3 separate regions of the Homo sapiens genome follow, and all the other regions are linked to region 1. Evidence: promoter capture Hi-C in 16 types of primary human blood cells and fetal thymus (Javierre and others, 2016). All regions are on one chromosome and are shown on one strand. The core of a region is centred on a gene start or on the middle of the fragment in contact, and the rest is flanking DNA. Distances in the headings are between cores, read along the strand shown. Region 1 holds the start of TMEM131L (transmembrane 131 like). Region 2 has its middle 92 kb from the start of TRIM2. Region 3 overlaps RNF175 (ring finger protein 175).

Evidence for each region. Contacts are between HindIII fragments. The CHiCAGO score rates a contact against its expected background, and 5 or more counts as called.
Region 2: a contact is called between a fragment that was not itself captured here and the fragment with the promoter of TMEM131L in region 1, in 6 of 17 cell types (naive CD8 T cells, activated CD4 T cells, naive CD4 T cells and 3 more). The highest score is 9.3, in naive CD8 T cells.
Region 3: a contact is called between a fragment that was not itself captured here and the fragment with the promoter of TMEM131L in region 1, in 1 of 17 cell types (monocytes). The highest score is 5.4, in monocytes.

The regions. Positions count from the first base shown.
Region 1 is chr4:153,464,786-153,468,076 of GRCh38, forward strand. It overlaps TMEM131L (transmembrane 131 like), which reads left to right and starts at 1,575. Exons shown (of 35, transcript NM_001131007.2): 1 at 1,575-1,736; 2 at 2,426-2,496. The coding sequence starts at 1,613. RefSeq lists enhancers at 1,036-1,215, 2,586-3,251, 2,746-2,835, 3,206-3,265 and silencers at 1,256-1,405, 1,446-1,545, 1,916-2,275. The HindIII fragment of the contact is 8,794 bases long and covers 1-3,125 here.
Region 2 is chr4:153,110,468-153,113,758 of GRCh38, forward strand. No RefSeq gene overlaps it. Among named protein-coding and RNA genes, the nearest start is that of TRIM2, 92 kb to the right of the region's middle. RefSeq lists an enhancer at 1,804-2,303. The HindIII fragment of the contact is 166 bases long and covers 1,589-1,754 here.
Region 3 is chr4:153,729,946-153,733,236 of GRCh38, forward strand. All of the region lies in intron 3 of RNF175 (ring finger protein 175), which reads right to left. Among named protein-coding and RNA genes, the nearest start is that of RNF175, 28 kb to the right of the region's middle. The HindIII fragment of the contact is 3,306 bases long and covers 80-3,291 here.

The DNA.
Region 1 (3,291 bases), core at 325-2,824:
TCAGAATCCAAGGGGCAAATAGAAACTTGGAGAAGTGAAGAGAAAAAAAGGGCACATTGAGATGGCACTGGAGATCCTTGCTAAATAAAGGAAGATGTTGGCAAGGAATACAGAAAAAAGTATGAAACAGAGACTACTGGAGGTATTCAAGTTGGAAAATGCAAAGTGTCCCTTTTTTTTTTTCACATCAACAACTTACGTTTATGCTAATCTACTTAAATGTTAAGTCTGGCCAAGCAATTAGACTATTTAACCTTGTTTGGAGTTAAATGCAGACAGTGTGTGAGACTGTGTTCACAGTACTGTATTACGTCTTTAGGAAAGAGGATCTAGATTTCATTTTGTCCTTCTCAGGATTGTGTCTGCTATGCAAGCACTGGTTTTCTATAGTCTGGCTTGTAAGGCACAAGGAGCAATTAAACAGAGGATTAAGGTAAACAGGTGTGTCCCATCACTTCCCCTCTTCATACTATATTGTTCATATTCTCTGAATTTCATACAAGCTACAGTGGAAGCAGTAAGTTAACTTTAAAAAATCATAAGATTGCCCATACTTCTAGGTTATGCAAATTGATTTCTGAATAAGCCCTTGTTTGCGACATCGCTGGTAAAGGCAGGATGTTAACTTAAAGAGATGCCAGATTTTGGACTTGTTAGTTATAGGCATCAAAACCTGGAACTAGGAAATGTATTTCCACGTATTACTTCCATTATCCTACTAATGTTAGAAACAGGCAACTAACCACATCCTCGACCCCAACCATATTTCAGGAGAGGCTGGCTGAATTTTGCAATATGATTCCAAAAGGGAGTATTTGCAGGGTCTTTGAAGCTATAAATCCCCTAGGAAGAGTCTTCCCCACCTGTCAGGACCTGGACAGTGTCCACAGAGGGTGCCGGGCGCACTACCGCCACGCGGCGCTGAGGTCTGCCTCTCGGGTTTTGGGAGAGCTCTTTTTATTCTAAATTACAGACTTTGCAGCCACCGGATATCCTCGCTGCATAACTGGCAGTGGCCATGTGGCTGCACTCGCGTTTCCTGACAACCACTGCATTATTTCCACTAATATCCTGTGTCCAAGGCCTCTCGCTTGGCGACTCCTCGTTCCCACCTCCACCGCCACCTCTTCCCTCGAGGGTAATCTCTCGACCGTGGCCCAAGCGCCTCGACAAAGCGGCAACCACCCAAAAGTTCATGAAAATGCACTTGGCAAAAGTGGGCCGCTAGTCCCCGCGGACAGCTCTAAGCGACCCCGTCCCAGCCGAGGAAAGCGCCCGGGCCCCGCAGAGTGCGCGCTGCGGGGCGGGCCCGCGGCCATGTGCTCCGCGCCGGGGCGGGGCACCCGCGGGTTCGCATTGTCCACTTTCCCCCGCACCCCGCCGCGTTCCGTCCCTCCCTATCTGCGGCGCACACGCGCTCAGAGCAAGCGGCGCGCCCGGGTCTGGAGCTGCAGCAGCTGCGGCAGCGGCGGGGGTGGTGCGGCGCGGGGCGGGGCGGGGCGGGGCGGGGCGGGGCGGGGCGGCACGGGGGCGGGCCCGGGGCGAGGCAGCTGGGGCGCCAGCGAGCTAGCGGCGAGCGCGGCGAGCAACGGAGAGGAGCGCGAGCAGCAGCATGGCGGGGCTCCGACGCCCGCAGCCCGGCTGCTACTGCCGCACCGCGGCGGCCGTGAACCTCCTGCTGGGCGTCTTCCAGGTCCTGCTGCCCTGCTGTCGCCCGGGAGGGGCTCAGGGACAAGGTCAGCCTTGCGCCGCTGGGCTCGCTCTGCCTCTCCACCCCGCCCCCGCTCTTTCTTTTAGGGAACTGCTGAAATCTATAAGAGGGCGAGGGGAGGAAAGGGAAAGGGGCAGGAGGAGGAAGGAAAGCTGTTGCGATTCTCCGCTGATAACATTTTCTGACCACAGCGTCCCGTCCCGCGCCTCTCTGCCCCGTACAGCTGGAGAGCGGGGCAGTCGCGGGGCTTGGGGACCGCTAGCCGCTCGCGCCCTGGAGCCTTTGTGCGCGGGCCCCTGCGCCCCGGGCGCAGCCCCCGCTTTGTGTGGCGCGCGCGGGTGCCCCGCAGCGGCCCGGCTTCCTGCAGCTTTGTTCCCCCGAGCCTGGCCGCCCAGGGTCCACACTCCAGATGCTCGGGCTGCGGAGCCCGGAGTGCCTCGTGGGGTGTCTTCACTCCCACTTCGTCCCCCCACCCCCAGCACGAGCACCCCGAGCCTGCCTGCACGCTGTCGCCTTCGCGTCCGAGGGGCCGCCGGCTCACACCCCACCCATTGTATTTTTATCCTTGGCTCGCCCCTGGGATGGCCTCTGTTCCCAGGAGGAAAAAGAGACGTGTTTTGGTGAGGCGGGGGGCACGGAGGGACGGTAGGGGAAACAGGAAGCGTTTCTTTAGCGTGCATTAAAAACGTGGTGTATTTTTTGGTGTTCCTGCAGCGATTGAGCCGTTGCCGAACGTGGTGGAGCTGTGGCAGGCAGAAGAAGGGGAACTCCTGCTGCCCACTCAGGTGAGGACGACCAGGTGACAGGGCGGCTGTGGGTGTACGAGGGAGGAGAGGCGGGGAGGCCCCCGGTCCTCCCCACCCCCTGTCCAAGCGGCACAGGCGTTCGGGCCACTTTGCAAGGCAAATAAACGTTAGGGGCCGAGCCTGAACACCTGGCAACGGTGGCCTTCCCGGCTCCTCCCACGCCATGTGACAGGGCCTGAGGCAGGCCGGCCCCAAGTTCAGAAGGTGGGAACCCAGGCCACCTCAGCAGGGAAGCGGCCAGCGGTCTGTTCGGCCGTGGGTGTCCTGGGTGCACACTGTTCCCTAAGTGAGCTGGTGCTGTGTGGATGGCAAGTGGCTAAGAGGTTGAGGACAACAGGAGTATTGATTTCATAAATGTTAGAGTGGTATTTGCCATTAGCGTTAAGTAGCTTTGGGATGGAGATGTGACTCTCAAGGATTGTCATCTTGGATTTTCTCCAAGTGCCCTTAATTCCTGTTAAAATACACCCACTTAAGAACTTGAATTTCTGGTTTTTTTCTCTGTATGATGATATGATGATTGCGTGTAGAAAAATAATTACTGACGTTTTATTGGGAATCTGTAGCATCATAGAGGGTTTATTGCTGCAACAGATACAGTACTGCAAAGCTTTTAACTTTTACAAGAAATTCCCATTGACTGTGAAGTGTGCACATTTAAATATAATGTTGTTGACTGCCTTTCACCAGTAACGGTAGTGATCCAAAATGCATTTTTTGGGTGGGAGTGGCTTGAATTATAAGGAAATATTTAGCTTGTGTGCAGTACTTTTT
Region 2 (3,291 bases), core at 422-2,921, 350 kb before region 1:
ACTGCACTCCAGCCTGGGCGACAGAGCGAGACTCCGTCCCCCCACAAAAAAAGAAGTTTTCTCTCCAAATCTTCCCTGGTCATCTCTCTGATTCCAAAGACCAATCAGGGAGGAGGTGAAATAGACAGTCCCAAAGAGTCCAAGAGAGGCTGGGGCATCCTGTGGGGGGTAGGATGGAGCAGAAGGAACCGGACACTAAGGATGAACCCAAGGGAGCAAGACAAGTTAATACCGGCTGAGACCCAAGAACAGGGGAAGTGCCAGAAAGGGCATCTGAGGCCAGGGATCAAGAGGAGATGGGGGAGCTGGAGAGGAGTGGAGGGTGCTGGGAAGGAAGGGAGGGCCCAGTGGGTCACTGCGCCACCCACTGAGGAGCAGCCAGAGGAATGATGGCAGAGTGCCCTGGACACCCTTAAAGGCACCAGGTGAAGGCCGGAAGTCTTAGAAGAAAAAAAAAAAAAGCTGCACACGTGGTGGGTGTCACACCCAAAAGGCAACAGACCTTGTCCAGGAGGTCACTCGTCTAGGACATTGTAGAAATGATTCACTGACCCAGGTTGGGCCAGATGAGCACACAGTCATTCCAAGCCCAGATCCTTGGATTCGGTGTTGCAGGGACAGTTAGGGCTCACATTGGAGAGGCACCTGCCTTGAGCAGGGCAGAGCGCAGGAGTGGGAAGGGAGCTGGGAGATGAGAAGGCTGAGCTGGAGGGGAATGGGGTCTCACACCTACTGGGAGCCAGAGGCAACCATGAGAATCTCTCCAAATACTCCTATCAGAGAGAGGGGAAACAAGTATTTGAGAAGTGCGTTAGGACCAATTTTCTTCCTTTTTTTCTTCAGATCATGAAAGTGACAGACATTCATCATCCTTTTGGAAAATACAGTAAAGTAGGAGGAACATACAGATTTCCCTTACTCGTATCCACACAGGACTGTTGTTCTTTTCATGTATAGTCTATTTCCAGGTGTCTGTATGCCTGTGGATAAACGTTTGTTCATTAGTTAGCTGGGTTGGGATCATCTGGTAGGATTTTTGCACTTAACTACCTGCTATAGTCAGAATGTTTGCGTCCCCGCCACATTCATATGTTGAAACCTAACCCCCAAGGTGGTGGTATTAGGAGTGGGTGCTACTGGGCGGTGATTAGGTCATGAGGGCAGAGCTCTCAAGCATGGGTTTAGTGTCCCTCGAGAGGAGGCCCTGGAGAACCCCTGGCCCCTTCTACCAGGTGAGGACACAGGGAGAAGGTGTCACCTGTGAACCAGGAAAAAGGTCCTCACTAGACACTGAATCAGCCGACACCTTGATCTTGGCCCCCACCCCTTCCAAAACTGTGAAAAATAAATTTGTTTATAAGCCCCCATGTTTATGGCACGGTGTCATGGCAGCTGCCCAAACAAACCAAGACACTATCTGTTGTGAGCATTTTCCCGTGGTTTTCAACCGCATAATTTGTAATGGTCGCATAGCCTCCCATCATATGAATGTATTGTAATTTATTTAACAGATTGCTTATTGTTAGACATGCATTAATATAAATCCTGAGATATAATCTGGGCATCAATCTAGACAAACGAGCTCCAAAGCTTTAGTTTAGCTCTGCCCTTAGGGCAGTATTGGAAGCTGTAAAGACAGCTGTGAGCTGGAGCAGTCCCGAGGCACCCGCATGCAGGTGTGCCGGGAAAGCCTGTGGTGGCCCAAAAGGCGTCATCAGCTGTCAGAGGGAGCAGTCTTCAAAGGCCAACAATCAAGCTTAGTGCCAGGAAGCACAGCTCCTGCACATGGCCCGCAGCCCTCTCAGGACAGAAGAACTGGGTGCAGCAGGCCTCACGTGCCTACTGGCGGGGTCCCAGGAGAGGTCCTATAGCTTCCATCCAGCTGTCCCCACACCCTGCTCCGCTCTGCTCTCTCCATGCCCCCACCCCGTGGAGCATAGCCCCTTCTCACCACACCCAGCCCTGCTGTGGTCCGCATGCTCCCACCTCTTCGGCCCCTTCCTTGCTTGGCCCTGGTGTCTGTGTGGACTGAAGGCCAACTGTTCCCTGGGACTCTGGTCACCTTGGAGCCCCCACCCCTACTGCCATTTCCAAATTACATCTCTCTCTTTTTTCTCTAGAACCCACAGCTTATGTGAAGCTGTGCCATTCAGCTCCACCACATCCTGCCTTTCCTCATGATGGTCCTTACCAACCTCTGATTATCCCATTCATTAAAAACTCTAGTTCTGCCTCACTACCTTCTCCTCCACATTTCCTCTGATTTTTACATCCGTATGGAGGAGCTGACCAACACTAGAGCTTCTAAGTCTCAGTAGCAGTTCCCTAGGGCCGCTGAAACAAATTGCTTCAAATCGGTGGCTTAGCATAACAGAAATTGATTATCTCACAGATCTAGAGGCTGGAAATCCAAAATCAAGGCATGGACAGGGCCACAGTGCCTCTGGAGGCTTTGGGCGAACTCTTCCTGGCCTCTTCCAGCTTCTGGTGGTTCCTTGGCCTGTGACTGTGTAACTCCAATCTCTTCACTTGGTCTTCTCCTGTGTCTGTGTGTCTGTCTCCCCTTCTTTCTATTACAAGGACACTTACTGGATTTAGGGCCCACATGGCTAATCCAGGATGATCTCATCCATTGATCTTTAATTGAATTATATCTGCCAAGACTCTTTTTCCAAATAAAATTATAGTCACAGGGTCGCAAGTTCCAGGACACTGACATATCTTTTTGGAGCCCACCATTCAACTGAACTCAGTGCCTTATCCTGTTTCCCACCTGAGCCACTCTAGTCTCATGGTCACACCGTAGACCTTGTCATAACAAGCATCTCAGCCACCTTTAAATTATCGATCTCAGACATCCTCCCAGCTCTCTTGTGCTCTAGGACTCTAGCCCAAGGGCTCTCATTCACTGACGTCCCTGCCTGTGCGTTTTCTGTCATTCCTTCCCTCATTGTTGCCCTCCTTACTCAGCTCAGACTGCAAGTTGCCTCATTACAACCTCTCCCTGGCAGAATTCCTCAACCCCTTGCTTCTCTCTTCTCTAAGTCATACTTATCCTGCAAAACCTCAACCTTGGCTGATTCTAGTATTGACTTGGATGCACAGCTGACCACAACAGGAAAAGTCACACTGTCGGGCTGACTGGTTTCACTTTAAGTTCATGGCCACAAACCTCTAATGGGCACTGCTTAGCTACTCTGTCCATTTCCATTGTGAGTTGACTTTCCCCGGCAGCATCTCTCTCTTCACATCTCCCATGGTGAATGCATGACCTGCCCCACATGGAGCTGA
Region 3 (3,291 bases), core at 483-2,982, 270 kb after region 1:
ACTTTGTGGGTGTGGAAAATGAATGAGTTAGCACCTTTATGTAATTGAGATAAATACACATACACAAATAGGAAAAACAAGCTTTACTTAAGGAAGTAGAATAGTTTTCAAGAGGACCCGAAACCATATGCTAAGTAACCAAGACTCAAGATGTGCTTACTTAAGCATTCAGCAACTTTGACCCTCTGCTATTGACAGTAAAAGTATGCAGCACCATGGCCTGGTGTGGTGGCTCATGCCTGTAATCCCAGCAGTTTGGGAGGCGGGGGTGGATGAATTTCTTGAGCTCAGGAGCTTGAGACCAGCCTGGGCAACATGGCCAAACCCTGTCTCTACAAAAATTAGCCAGACGTGGTGGTATGTGCCTGTAGTCCCAGCTACTCAGAAGGCTGAGGTGGGAGGACCACCTGAGCCCTTGAGGTCAAGGCTGCAGTGAGTTGAGATCATGACACTGCACCGGGTGACAGAGTTAGACCCTGTCTTAAAAAAAAAAAAGTGGGTAGCACCTTAACAAAAATCTTATCAGCATATTGGTCATTTATTTTCTGTAGCTGATTTTGGAGATAGTTCTTTATCATAAATTATACATTTGCTGACTTAAAAGATCATTACTTCTGGTAGTAAAGAAGGAAATGGACATGAACTTCATCTTTCAAAGTCTGATCATCTGTCGTTTGCATTTTTCCTCTTTCTATTTTAAGAATTTGTTTCATTTTTTTATTTCCCCATAAAATACTGGAGTTTTTTAAAATAAAAACTTGAGTTGGTTCATTTTAATTCAGTGGAACTACTATGCTCTTATATTTTATACTTTAGATCTAAGCCAAAATATAAGACTAATCAATTTCTTCTAATCCATGGAGTTACAATCCATGATAGTTTGGAGCCACAGCTGGACTATATTTTAATAAAACCAGTTCTCTTCCTGTAAATCCATAAGTATGAACAATTTCTAGAAGATGTCAAATTTCTCTTGATGCCTAGATTTAATTAATAGTGAGTAACAATGTTCAATGTACAGACATTGTACTTTTAAAAATAGGCTTTGGAGATCAAAAAGGAAAAGAAAGCAAAAAATCATTAGAATGTATTATGTGTGCAAATATTTTATTTCTTAACTATCTTTAAAATGTAACTCAGCACCATATTTTCTCAATATATGAAGGGAAAGTTCAGTAATTTGCTCTGTGAATTCAGTGATTGCATGGCTAGTCATTTTGAAATGAGAGACACATTTCATATCAATTTAAAAGATTCTTTATCAATTTCCAGAGCAGTTAAAATTTCTCATTTTAAATAGTAACTGCCATATATGAAATGTAGGAATGCTGTCCCTCATAAATAAACACATGAAATATATGAAATCGAGGCACATACATGCAAAGAAGGAAGCCTGGCATCTGGAACTCATTAATAATGCCACAGGGGTCACCATCTGGGCATGTGTGTATAAAACACATCTGCACTACTGGCAACGGGTGGCTCATGCATCTGGATCACATCACTCACGTTCTCCCCAACCACATATCATAGCAGGAGGAATTTCCTGATGAATCAGATGCTGCCCAAAAGTACCATGGTTTCTTTGTGTTGCCATGCACATAATGAATCTGAAAAGAATTACAGATCAAGCTAAAACAAAGATACCTTTCATTTGGCTAATTGTACAGAATGATGAATGGGCCATGCAATATTAAAAGAAAGAAGGAAAGAGAAAGAAAGAGAGAGAGGGAGGGAGGGAGGAAGGAAGGAAGGAAGGAAGGAAACAAGGAAAAAAAGAAAAAAATAAATAAATTATGTGTGTTCATTTCCTCTGCACTGCAAATCCCAAACTATCTGCAATCATTTGTGTGTGGAGGGTGGTGGGATGGTGGAGGGAGGGCAGTGGTGTGCTCAGAGGTAAGCAGAAAATTATCATAAAAAAATACCCAGGAAACAATGCTGCTATTAGTAAAAGACAATGAAGGAGAGTGTGAATATAAAGCAAGTAGGAAGAAAGTATGGGTTGGCACGTGGTGACTCATGCCTGTAATCTGAGGACTTTGGGAGGCCGAGATGGGTGGATCCCTTGAGGCCAGAAGTTTGAGACCAGCCTGGGCAACATGGTGAAACCCCATCTCTACTAAAAATACAAAAATTAGCTGGGCGAGGTGGCACACGCCTGGAATCCCAGCTACTTGGGTGGCTGAAGCGTGAGAGTTGTTTGAACCTGGGAAGCGGAGGTTGCAGTGAGCCGACATCCTGCCACTGTACTACAGCCTGGGTAACAGAGCAAGACTCTGTCTCAAAAAAAAAAAACAAAAACAAAAAACAAAAAACAAAGAAGAAGAAGAAAATATGGAAATGGAATATTGGCATACAAAGGTTCCTTAGAAATTCAGTTGGTTCACTTTTTTTAATCTCCACATCAATCTAGATGGCTGATTTTGTTATTTAAACTTTTAAAGGAGGTTCTGCAATGTTATATACATATGTATTTAAGTATGTATGTATTTGTGTCTTGCCTCATTTTAAAAAGATTTGAGCAGACACAATGCTTTATTGGCCCAGTAATATTTTCTAGTATTTCACAGCTATTAATAGGCAGGAAGGTTGATTTAAATAGAGCAATGCTTCAATCTGGAAAATTATTTGCACTGTATTGAGGCAAGTTAATAGTGTGTCTGAAACCCAAGTTCTGGGCATGTAGTCATCAGGCCTTCTACTGATTTGTGAAGTCAGAGAAGGATTCTTTTTTGGCACTCTTCTGTCTACTTGCTGCAGATACGGAAAGTAACTGCACATAAAAGAAGGTGGAGAGGGTGATGTTGAATGAAATTTTATTTCTAGTTAAATGCTGTTCAAAGCATTTGGAAATGATTTAACTTTGAGGCTTTGCCTACATCTATAACATATCAAGATTACCAGCTGGAAAGGGAAAAATTCAAATACCCGGATGCTTGGACTATGCTGTGCTAAAAATGCGACTACTTGAAAACATCCAGGTATTTAGTAGTATCCCACATGAAATAAGAATTTCCCACCTTCTTTCCACTTTTGACATCACACAGGAGCAGTTAACATTATATTTCTATACTTTATTTTCTAAATAAACCATTTCTTTTGCTTTAGGTATTTATAATAAGCTGCTCTGATGTACACAGCTCCTACAGACCGCAGAACATAATCTATCTAGACAAATTTAAAAGACCACCTCAGAAGACGGGCATACTTGTTAAAAAGTTGTATCTGAAAATATTCTGAGCTTTTTGAATTAGTCTGTGTCCTCTTTAAGTACATGATCTGAATTAT